2 separate regions of the Homo sapiens genome follow, and region 2 is linked to region 1. The links are contacts of gene promoters, found by promoter capture Hi-C in blood cells and fetal thymus (Javierre and others, 2016). All regions are on one chromosome and are shown on one strand. Each heading gives the region's core, a stretch centred on a gene start or on the middle of the fragment in contact. The rest is flanking DNA. Distances are from core to core; before and after follow the strand shown.

Region 1 (6,003 bases), core at 2,022-4,521:
GTGTAAATGTACATATATGTATGTATACACAAATACATAGTCTCTGTGTGTTTGCAAAACGTGGACATGCTAAGCACACCATTCTGCAGTCTTGTTGGTTCTGTCACAATCTCTCACCTTTCTACTCCAGGCATTTTACCATAGTCAGATTTTCCCAATGAACCCAAAATGTCCTACACATCCTTTTTGACCAGTTGTGTATTCAGTCTGGGGCTGCACATGACATCTGGGTCTCGAGTGTCTTAGCGTCTTTTAATCTAGTAAACCCCATGTCTTTTTTCTTTTTTTTTTTTTTTTGAGACAGAGTCTCGCTCTGTCACCCAGGCTGGAGTGCAGTGGCACGATCTTGACTCACTGCAACCTCCCCTCCCGGGTTCAAGCAGTTCTTCTGCCTCAGCCTCCCGAGTAGCTGGAACTACAGGCGCCCACCACCACGCCTGGCTAATTTTTGTATTTTTAGTAGAGACGGAGTTTCACTATGTTGGCCAGGCTGGTCTCGAACTCCTGACCTTGTGATCCGTCCGCTTCGGCCTCCCAAAGTGCTGGGATTACAGGCGTGAGCCACTGCACCTGGCCTACCCATTTCTATGGCATTGTTTGTTGGATTTGTCTGGCTGCTCACTTGCGTCACGTAGCTCGTTCCTTGTATTTCCGATAAACTAGAAATGATGTCTGAAGGCTCATGGATTCAAGTTAACCCAAGGGGACACATCCCATGTGGCTGACACCACCAGCAATGCTAAGATTGACCATGGCATCTGCCGTGCACCTTGTGATGACACCATGATCCGTGTGGCATCACTTCACTCCTACAGTCATTTTCCCAGCAACTCTTCACCTAATGGTTTTAGCACCAATGAATAATCTTTGTGTTTTAAAATAGGGGGTTTGCAGTTCAGGTATGGTGAGGCCAACCATAGAGTATGCTAAGGATAGGGTGACATTGAAGTAAAGACTCAAAGCCATTGAAGGAGTGAGCCATGTGGCTGGCTGTGGGAAGACTGTTCCAGGAGAGGAAATAGCAAGTGGAAAGGCCTAGACGGAGGTTTAAAGAAAAGCAGGCCAGTGGTGGTGGCTCACGTCTGTAACCCCAACACTTTAGAAGGTTGAGGTGAGAGGATCAGTTGAGGTTGGGAGTTCGAGACCAGCCTGAGCAACATAGCAAGACCCCATCTCTACAAAAAGGTTAAAGAATTAGCTGGGTGTGGTGGCATGTGCCTGTAGTCCTAGCTACTCGGGAGGCTTAAGTGGGAGGAGCGCTTGAGCCCAGGAGTTCAAAGCTGCAGTGAGCTATGATTGCACCACTGCACTCCAGCCTGGGTGACAGAGCGAGACCCTGTCTCTAAAAGAAAAGAAAACAGGCTCAGTACTCTGGAGTGAAGTGGGCAAGGGAGAGGGTGGTGAGAAATAAAGTCAGAGGTAAAGGGGGGCCAGAGCATGCCGGACCTGGCAAGCATTGTCCAGACTTAAATGGGAAGCCATTGGAATGTTTGGGTGGATGCTGATACCCCAAACGTCAGAACAGGCTTTCTGCATATACTTGTTTCATTCCCAAGTCAGTCCCCCATGTAAGTGTGTTAGTGGTCGCAGAGTCCCCTCCATCCATTCCCTGAGTGTTCTTGGGAGCAGGCATTGTTCTGGGCACTGTGAAGACAAAAGTGAAGGAAACAAAATGGCCTAGGCCCTGCCCTCATGGAGCCTGGACTCCAGTGAGGGAAGAGAGACTGTAGAATAATTCCCAAGCAAGAGTGAAATGTGGCCAGGCACGGTAGCTCATGCCTATAATCCCAGCACTTCAGGAGGCCAGGAGTTTGACACCAACCTGGCCAACATGACGAAACCCCATCTCTATTAAAAATACAAAAATTAGCTGGGCATGCTGGTGCACAACTGTAATCCCAGCTACTCGGGAGGCTGAGACAGGAGAATCGCTTGCACCCAGGAGGTGGAGGCTGCAGTGAGCCGAGATCGCGCCACTGCACTCCAGCCCAGGCAACAGAGTGAGACTCTATCTCGAAAGCAAAAAAAAAAAAGAGTGAAATGCAAGCGTGCCTCCAATCTGGTCCTGGAGGTTGGGGATAGCTCCCCTGAGGAAGTGACTCCTGGTCAAAAATCTGAAAGGCCAAGAAGAGTCAACAAAGTGGAGAGAGGAGAGGCTTGTTCCAGGCAGAAATAATAGTGGGAAGGAGGAAGCGTGGCAGACGGCGTGGAAGGAAAGGCAGGCAGAGGTTCCAGAGGCTGCAAGCTTTTTGCCTGCATTCTAAGAGCAATGGGTGATTGTAAGCGAGGGATGACAGGGCTCAGAAGGTCTCTCTGCCTCTGTGTGGAAAAGGGCTTGGAGGGTAGAAATAAATGTGGTCGGCTGGGTGCGGTGACTCATTCCTGGAATCCCAGCACTTTGGGAGGCCGAGGCAGGTGGATCACCTGAGGTCAGGAGTTCGAGACCAGCCTGGCCAACATAGTAAAACCCTGTCTCTACTAAAAATACAAAATTAGCTCAGTGTGGTGGTAGGCGCCTGTAGTCCCAGCTACTCTGGAGGCTGAGGCAAGAGAATCACTTGAACCTGGGAGGCAGAAGTTTCAGCAAGCTGAGACTGCACCACTGCACTTCAGCCTGGGAGGCAGAAGTTTCAGCAAGCTGAGACTGCACCACTGCACTTCAGCCTGGGAGACAGAGCAAGACTCCATCTCAAAACAAAAAACAAAACAAAAAAAAGAAAAGAAATAGATGTAGTCAGACAGTGGGGAATCACTCCGGTCCTGAGAAGCAAAGGCGGTGCTGGGGATGGGAGGATGCAGACAGGTTCCAGAGACACTGAGGGGATCAACAGGACTCCTGAAGCCATCAATCAGTAGGACCGGGTGGAGGAGAGGGACAGATCCAGCTTGGCTTGCATAACACCAGGTTCATCTTGAGGTTGACATTTCTCCTTGACCTTTTTGTTTAGTCCCCACCCGCAAGGTCGCATTAGCTGCCTGCTGAGTTTAATCAAATCTCTTCCTGTCCTGGCAATGCCCGGGAATGAAGAGATAATCAGTCTATTTCCAGAATCCAAAGAGGTTTAGAAGAAAAAGTAGCTTTCATTTAGCTGTTGGCCCTCCCACCAACCTTCCCCAAGTCAGCTGGGTGACTCATACATCTGTGAGACCCTCCGTATGGAGACCGGGGCGGGGGGTGTTGCTTAATGCTTAGAACTGCTGAAACTACCAGTTCACTGTCTCAGCACTAATCCAACTCTGCTCCTTAAGTGGGATTTGGCTTTTAGACATTGAGACCTGGATGCTGGGCATCCTCGCTAGATCCCCTACAAATTCCCCACATACGTAGGCCAGGAGCCTCAGCGGTGCCCCTTCAGGCTCATCTGGCAAGACGGTACCAGCTTGCTCAGAACAGGGGCTGGCTATTCATCATCTCAGAGCATAGAGACCCTCTCCTTGCCACCCGGCCCTTCCCACCTGGTTGGTGACAAATCACAAGGTATGTGACCACCACAGGCCAAAACCTTATCAGAAACCTGGGGCAGGTGTGGGGAAGAGCAAGGATGGGCGTTTTCCTGCAGACAGTATGTCCCGCCTTCACCTTTTCTGTGTGGTTTCCATAAGACTTGGTTGCTATTTAAGGAGACTTGGAGTGAGCGGGTGCAATGGCTCATGCCTATAGTCCCAGTGACTCAGGAGGCTGAGGCTGGAGGATCACTTGAAGCCAGGAATTCGAGACCAACTTGAGCAATACAGTCAGACCCAGTCTCTACAAAAAAACAAAAATAAAAATAAATTAGCTAGGCATGGTGTCACACACCTGTAGTCCTGGCTACTCAGCTGGCTGAGGCAGGAGGATCACGAGCCCAGGAGTTCGAGGCTGCGGTGAGCTATGATTGTGGCACTGCCCTCCAGCCTGGGCAACAGAACGAGCTCCTATATCTTAAAAAAAAAAAAAACCTCAGAGTATGCTTAATTCTAGACCGCTAAGATGGCCTCTTAATTGTAAAACAGAGTGGCTATCTCTTAGTAGGAATTGCCAAATAGAACTTTTGGGATTTTAATATATTCTTTTTTTTTAAAAAAAGTGATAGGATCTTGCTATGTTGCCCAGGCCAGTCTCCAACTCCTGGTTTCAAATGATCCTCTCGCTTCAGCCTCCCAGAATGTTGAGATGACAGGTGTGAGCCACAGTGCCCGGCCATTAATATCTTCTTGAAAACAGTCTTTGCGAAGTGGTTATGTTGTGGTTTTCAGGAACTTTTCTGATTTATTCGCCATTAGACACAGTCACGATAGAACTTTAAATTCAACCTGGCTAAGTGTGATAACACCAAAGGTTAGTCAGAAAGTAAAACCTCATTGGAATCTAGCTAGACTCCCTGGCAAGGTGTACTGAGAAATGTTTGAAGCTTACCAAGAAAAATAAAATATTGAAAACACCCCAAAGCATGCTGCAGTAAAATACAAACTAAGCAAAGACTCACCGATGAAACTCGGATGTTGAAGCCGGTACAAGGGCATGGTGAGGACGCACAGGATCTCGTGAGTAGGTTTCATAACTAGGATGTTCTTGACTTGATATTTAGGATTGTCTTACCTTTCTCCAACCCTCTAACACCTGACCAACACCCCAAGGTGGTAGAAGTTGCCAGGGACAGATAACATGGCAGCCAGCGGGAAGACCAGCAAGTCCGAACCGAACCATGTTATCTTCAAGAAGATCTCCCGGGACAAATCGGTGAGTGGTGCACAAGTGAGTGATTTGATAGAAATTATTGTTTAAAAAAAATGGAGCTTTTTCAAGTACAGTGTAGTCATGATCAACATCAAAACTCTTTGAGGGCCAGGGCGCGGTGGCTCATGCCTGTAATCCCAGCACTTTGGGAGGCGGAGGCGGGATAACTTGAGGCCAGGAGTTCGAGACCAGCCTGGCCAACATGGCAAAACCCATCTCTACTAAAAATACAAAAATTAGCTGGGTATGGTGGCAGGCACCTGTAATCCCAGACTTGGGAGGCTGAGGCACAAGAATCACTTGAACCCAGGAGGTACAGGTTGCAGTGAGCCCAGATGGTGCCACTGCACTCTAGCCTGGGTAGCAGAGGGAGACTCTGTCTCAAATAAAAAACAAACAAACACTGTGAGGGCCAGGGAAGCTTTGTGTCTATTTTTGTCTCTGTCTAAGATGGATGATCACTGAGCTATAAATGAGTGAATGAACTGCAGAAATAGAGCTTCTCTTCAGTCTCATCAAGACTTTAGTCCTGTGTCCCTCAGTTTTCTCCGAATCCCTCAATCCCCACACTGTCACCCCCACCTCTGCATCTTTTCCTAGCCAGCCTTGAACCCTTGACTTACTATTTAAACACAGTTTTGTCAGTACCTGTGATGCCCTTGGCCTTTTGTCTATCTATTGTGTCACCTGCCTGGGTAAAACCCAGACAGTGATCAATGTGACTCCTTCTTCTCCGTGCACCTACCCCACCCGGGGGGTCTCAAGCCTCAGCTGGGCCCGCAGGGCCATTGGATAAGGGAAAATGCCCCAGTCTGCCCCCTTTCCACCACTCTCCAGGGGCACGTTAGATGCTCCAGGTGTGCCCATGAACTTCCTCGCATGGGAGAGGGTCCACCGTCCAGCCTCTGTGGATAGCTCCACTCGAAAGCTTCTTGTGGGCCAAAAATCTAGCTCAGCAACATCTAGTGCAAGCCACATATGTAATTTTAAATTTTCTAGTAGCCACATTTAAAAAGTAAGAAGAAACAGGTGAAATTCATTTTGATGTTATATTTTATTTCAGCCCACTATATCCAAAAAACTATCAGTTCAACTTGTAAATAATAATATAAGAATTATTGAAATCTGATGTGTATTTTATGTTTACAGAACATGTCAATTTGGAATGGCCATATTTCAGGTGTCCGGGAGCCACCTTAAGCAGTGGCTACCCTACTGGACAGGGTAGCTCGCCATCATTCTGGCTTTTTTTTTTTTTTTTTTTTTGAGACAGAGTCTCACTCTGT
Region 2 (6,003 bases), core at 1,580-4,079, 560 kb before region 1:
CCACTTATATGACTTTATTATATTCTTCTACTAGCCTCTTAGTTTCATGAAGGCTGGACAGGAACTTGTGTTTAGCAAGGCCTTGAGGATCTCAAATTCTCTTTTTCCCTCCCTTCCTCCGACTCTCTTTCCAGCTCTCCTTATTCTTCCTTTCTCCTTCCCACTTAACATCTCCTTCCTAGCACCTCTCTCTACCCTGTTGGTGAAAAAGATTAGGAAGAATATTCCTGATAGCAGAAAGGACGTGTGTGAACATAAGGCAAGGAACTGATTTAAGAGAGGAACTTCATGATGCATAATGTTTACCTTTATTATGTGAAGTGTGGGAGATAAGAGCTTGGAGGCAGCCCTTCTGTTAACAAGGCTTGGGTTTTATTGGTCATTGTGTGCCAGTGAAAAAAGAATTGGGGCTGGGCGCAGTGGCTCACCCCTATAATCCCAACACTTTGGGAGACTGAGGCGGGTGGATCACCTGAGGTCAGGAGTTCAAGACCAGCCTGACAAATATGGGGAAACCCCATCTCTACTAAAAATACAAAAATTAGCCAGGTGTGGTGGCGTGTGCCTGTAATCCCAACTACGCAGGAGGCTGAGGCAGGAGAACTGCTTAAACCTGGGAGGTGGAGGTTGCAGTGAGCTGAGCTGAGCTGAGATAGTGCCACTGCACTCCAGCCTGGGTAACAGAGTGAGCCTCTGTCTCAAAAATAAATAAATAAATAAATAGTTCTTAGTAACGTAGGAGATTAAGACTAGTAAAATCGTTCAGGATGCATTTGCAGCAGTCCAGGTGGGAAATAAAAGTGTGAATAAAAATTAGGTTAGTTGGATCAGGGGAAGACTTGAGAGACTGAGGATTTAAAACTAATAGGACATGGTAATTGGGTATGAGAGATGGTAGAAGGTGAGGAGTAAAGTATGAATCCCAGATTTTTAATCCAGTGGCTGATTAGATTGGGATGTCCTTAACTATGTTTGAGAATATGGGCAGTGAATGGGTTGGATGAATAAGTTGATGAGTAGGGTTAGGGTTTTGGGCATATTGAACCTGATGGGCTTTACATGGTTGTGTATGAAAGCCTGACTATAGGAGAGGTCACAGCTGGACTTGAGAATCACAAGCTTACATAGAAGTGCCTTTTGACTCCCACACCTTCACACATTGTTTATTGACTATCCAAATTGCTTTCATAAGCTGAAGTTTGGATTTTGGACAACACTTACCAAGCGAAGATTTTGGGAGTATCATGGGGCTTTGGGGGGCCTGCTGCTGCCACTTATTTACTACCCATGGTAGAATTGGCAGTGTTGAGGTTATTGATGAACAGTGCAGGAGCTAGTGGAGTGGCAGGAGAAACCAGGCACACTGCGTTTTGAAGTGACTGAGAAGCGAGGAAGTAGAGATGTTTCTAGATGAAGAGGAAAGATGAACAGTGCATAGCTAGAAGGGAAATGGCTGTATCAAAAGTTTTAAACAAATGAGGAGATATGTTTAGAGACAGACGAAAGCACATAGGGATTAAATTTCTAGAAGAGAGGGTTGTATGGAGGAGATAAAGATCATATGTGGATTTTTTTAACTTTTAGGTTCGGGGGTACATGTGAAGGTTATGTAGGTAAACTTGTGTCAATGGGGGTTTGTTGTACAGATTATTTCATCACCCAAGTGTTACACCGAGTACCCAGTGGTTTTTCGTGCTCCTCTCCCTCCTCCTGCCTTCCACCCCCAAGTAGACCCCAGTGTCTATCATTCCCTTCTTTGTGTTCATGAGTTCTCAGGTGGATTTTTAGTGAAGAATATTACCCAAATATGTTTTAGCTTTTCTAAGTATCTGCAGGTGAAGAGGGACTTGGAATTGAATTTGTCGATTATTGAATCATAGTACAGCCATTATCCTAACTCAGGCAACTGTCTTTTAGTTTGAGTTACTGCCAGTTTGCCTCAGTTTCTTTTCATAGCACCTGAAGGAAATCTCTGATTGTGTTATTGTGTTATTTTTGTATTTTTTATTTTTTGGAGACAGAGTCTCACTCTCAGCCAAGGTGGAATGCAGTGTTGCGATCATGGCTCACTGCAGCCTCTACCTCCTGAGGCTCAAGCGATCTTCCCACCTCAGCCTTCCAAATAGCTGGGACTACAGGCGTGCACCACCATGCTCTGCTAATTTTTTTTATTTTTGGAGAGACAGGATCTCACTGTGTTGCCTGGACTGGTCTCAAACTCCTGGTCTCAAGTGATCCACCTGCCTCAACCTCCCAAAGTGCTGGGATTACAAGCATGGGCTACTGCACCTGGCCTGTGTTACTCTTAATAAATCTGGTGACTATAAGAAATGTTTAGTCTTGGGCATTGGAAAACCATTGGTGATCCATTGGAAGGGACAGGGTGGTGAATACATTTGAAATCTTATTGTGAGCAGCAATTGAAGAAATTAGGAATGTTAGGCCATGAGAAGGAGTCTTTGGGGAGACATGGTGATTATTTGCCAATACCAGAATGATTTTCATTTGAAAGAGTGCTTAGATGTGTACTCCAGTGGTAGAAACTGTTGGGAAACATGTTGGTTTGGTGTTAAGGAAGATATTTTAAAACAAGTTCTAATAAAATATATGTATATTTTAAACTGGCTATTTTAAATAGGATTTTGAGACCTAATTGTTGGAAAGATTGTGTTTTTTTTTCTTTCTTTCTTTCTTTCTTTTTTTTTTTGAGACAGGGTCTTGCTTTGTCACCTAGGCTGGAGTGCAGTGGCTGTTCACTGCAGCCTTGACCTCCCAGGCTCGAGCAGTCCTCCCACCTCAGCCTCCTGAGTAGCTGGGACCAGAGGCATGAGCCACCATACCTGGCTAATTTTTGTATTTTTTGTCAAGATGGGGTTTCATCGTGTTGCCCAGGCTGGTCTTGAACTCTTGTACTGAAGTGATCCACACTCCTTAGCTTCCCAAGTGTTGGGATTACAAGTGTGAGCTAACCTGCAACCGGTCAATTGTGGTCTTTTTAGTAATAAAAACCTAGGTTTGAATCTTTGTTCTGCTGCCCGTGACTGTGGACAAGTTGTTTAACCCTTCAGCTTTATTTTTATCTGTTATGTTTGGGTTGTTGTGAAGGTTAAATTAGATTAAATGAGCTAGTTCACGTGTGAAATTTTCAGCTTCAGTGTTCAGTGGATATTAATTCCACTTCTTCAGTAAAGAGCCCAACTTTACAGGAATCTAATAAAAAGCAGTTTCTTGGAAGGTACTGGGGTAGTTCCTTTCTTCTTGGAAGGAGTGATTGGACCATTCCTTTGTGGGTATGTTGTTTGCTTACCTGGTTGTTTAACTTGTTTTATGGGGGTTGAACTAAATGACCTCCAAGCCCAAGAATATTTGCAAAGGAAACAGAGTAGCAGTGAGCAGTCCCAGAACCCAGGTTGTGGTATTTCTATAAATGAAAGTGAATCCAGGGCTCCCTGGAAATGATTGATTTCAGGTCTGAGGCAAGAAAAATACAAGATGAACCTGGAACATTCTGACATACCAGATAGAAAAGAAGCTGTTGAAGACTGCTAGGGTCATGTCAAAAGGACCCAGGAGCCAACCTGAAGAGTCTCCCACTCTTCAAAGATGAGACAGTTTGAACACTGTTAATAATTGCTGTGAATTGAAATATATTAATAAAATAATGTGTTACTGTTGGACACTGTTGGAAGGTGCAAGTGAACCTAGTCGTTATTTTGAAAACAAATAAGAATTAAGGCTTTTTCCCTCCTTTCTTGTATTAAGCAGTATTATTTGGTAACTATACCAGGTAGTATAAGAGGAAAATTTATCTTTGCAGAAGTATTCCAGCTAATACATAAGGGAGGAATGAAAGAATATAATCACTTACAACCTTAGTGAACTTAGGGAACCAAGCATTGATCATAAATTACTGCAAGTATCACAAACACGTCATCACAATGTGTGCCTCTTGATGGAATAACATACCACTACATACGAAGTATTGCCAAAAAAGAACCCAAATTGATGAAAATCTCAAAATCTCTATACTCAGTCACCAGTTTACATGAAATGCAAAAGACAGAAAAATGTTTAATTATATCATGGATAAAATCAGCAAAACCCAGACTTTAAAAAAATGTTTTGGGTCAGGCATGGTGGCTCATGCCTGTAATCTCAGCACTTCGAGAGGCCAAGGTGGGAGGATTGCTTGAGGCCCAGAGTTTGAGACTAGGTTGGGCAATATAGTGAGACCCTGTCTCTACAGAAAATACAAAAATTACACGGGAGTTTGTCATCTGCTTTTTGGTGCATTTATGAAAATACAAAAAATTTTCCACAATAAGTAAAAAAAAAAAATCCCACCCCAACAGTCTCACTTTACTAATGCATATTTTTTCTTTAAATATTACTTTATTCTTGTAAACACATTTTACTGTTTACTATGCATACGCTATTTTTAATAATGTGCACATATTTACTGTGTTTTACTTGGCCTTCATATTAATATTTAATGTGTCATAATTTAGTAGATTATTCCCTTCTTTTTTGCTTTGTGAATAAAGCTTAGCAGTTTTGGGCACATATTTCAATGCTTCTATTGAATTTTTCCTTAGTCTAAACTAGAATTAAAGTAGCTTGGTCCCTTTCATGCTTGATATCAGCTACTCCTGATGTTAGTTTTTCCACTTGCTGTCTGACACAGTGCTACAGTAGAATCTTACTCGCCATTTTTTGCTGAAGTTTTCTTCCCTTTTTCCCCATAAAAATATATTATTTTAAAATTAAACAAAATAGTCCCTTTTCCCCAAGTTCTGTTCTTTAGAGGCAACTTTTCTTATCAGTTTGGAGTATATTTTTTATTTGTCTTCTTAGCAGTACATGTAGTTTTCAATTTCTCTTTGTACTTTACTGCATTTTCAGATTCTCTACACTGACCATTAATTGCTTTTATTAAAAACGTTGTGAAATATTTCAGGCATATAAAAATATAAATTGTGATAAACACCCATGTATTCATTGGCAAGCTACAAAAATAAAACATTGTAGGTACAATTAAAGCTGCCTTTATAATCTTAATCTTTTGCAGATATAACCTTATTCTAAATGTTGTATTTGTCAATTTCATGTTTGTTTCTATGCTTTTGCTGCAGTTTGTATGTCTTGAAACAGTATAAACCTAGCTGCAGGTTTATGCATTTTATATAAAAATTATCATTACTATAGGCTGTGTTTTGATTTTTCTTTTGTATAGCATACTTTATTAAATATTTTAGCTATTACCAAATTGCCAAATAGATAATTAAATAATTAGCTATTATCAAATCATTCTTTGAAGTGATTATTTCAGTTTATAATACCACAAACACTACTTGAAAGTTTCCATTGTTTTACATCCTTACCAACACCTGGTATTATCAGACTTATTAAGTTTTATGAATCTAGTGAGTGTAAGGTAGTATCTCACTTTTGTTTTAATCATATGCGCCTTTTAAAATTTGGAAAAATGTGTCCCTTTTTCATTCTCTAAGCTTCTGGGGGACATAGCCGTGATGCCTTTTAAGTTAAGGAATTGCCACATGGTTGTCTAGTTATCTCTCAATAAACTGCCCTTTTAGCGTGCCATGACAAAAGATTGTATTAAAGCTAAAGTCTGATACTTTGAGATAGTAGGATTTCTTTTTGCTCTTCTAAAGAACTAAAATGAATTTTTTTTGACAGTGTATAGTATAAAAAGTCTGTAGCACCAGAATGTTTGACATATTCTCTGTCTTTTCTATTCTAGGCTCCGAGCTCTGTCCAGTGGTGGGAGTATTACATCCCCTCCTCTTTCTCCAGCATTGCCGAAGTATAAATTAGCAGATTATCGTTACGGCAGAGAAGAAATGTTAGCACTTTTCCTTAAAGACAACAAGGTAAGAAAGTAGGAAAAGAGTTCAAAATTGTGAATGAGACTTTGGGATATATACCATGATGTACTGATACATGAAAACTGATTTATTTTACTAATGTATTGACCCATGC

Evidence for each region. Contacts are between HindIII fragments. The CHiCAGO score rates a contact against its expected background, and 5 or more counts as called.
Region 2: a contact is called between a fragment that was not itself captured here and the fragment with the promoter of SAG in region 1, in 4 of 17 cell types (total CD4 T cells, non-activated CD4 T cells, naive CD8 T cells and 1 more). The highest score is 7.0, in total CD4 T cells.

The regions. Positions count from the first base shown.
Region 1 is chr2:233,304,545-233,310,547 of GRCh38, forward strand. SAG (S-antigen visual arrestin) reads left to right here and starts at 3,272. Exons shown (of 16, transcript NM_000541.5): 1 at 3,272-3,478; 2 at 4,618-4,720. The coding sequence starts at 4,646. The HindIII fragment of the contact is 2,146 bases long and covers 2,244-4,389 here.
Region 2 is chr2:232,741,851-232,747,853 of GRCh38, forward strand. It overlaps GIGYF2 (GRB10 interacting GYF protein 2), which reads left to right. Exons shown (of 29, transcript NM_001103146.3): 4 at 5,765-5,894. Among named protein-coding and RNA genes, the nearest start is that of KCNJ13, 32 kb to the right of the region's middle. The HindIII fragment of the contact is 3,425 bases long and covers 1,118-4,542 here.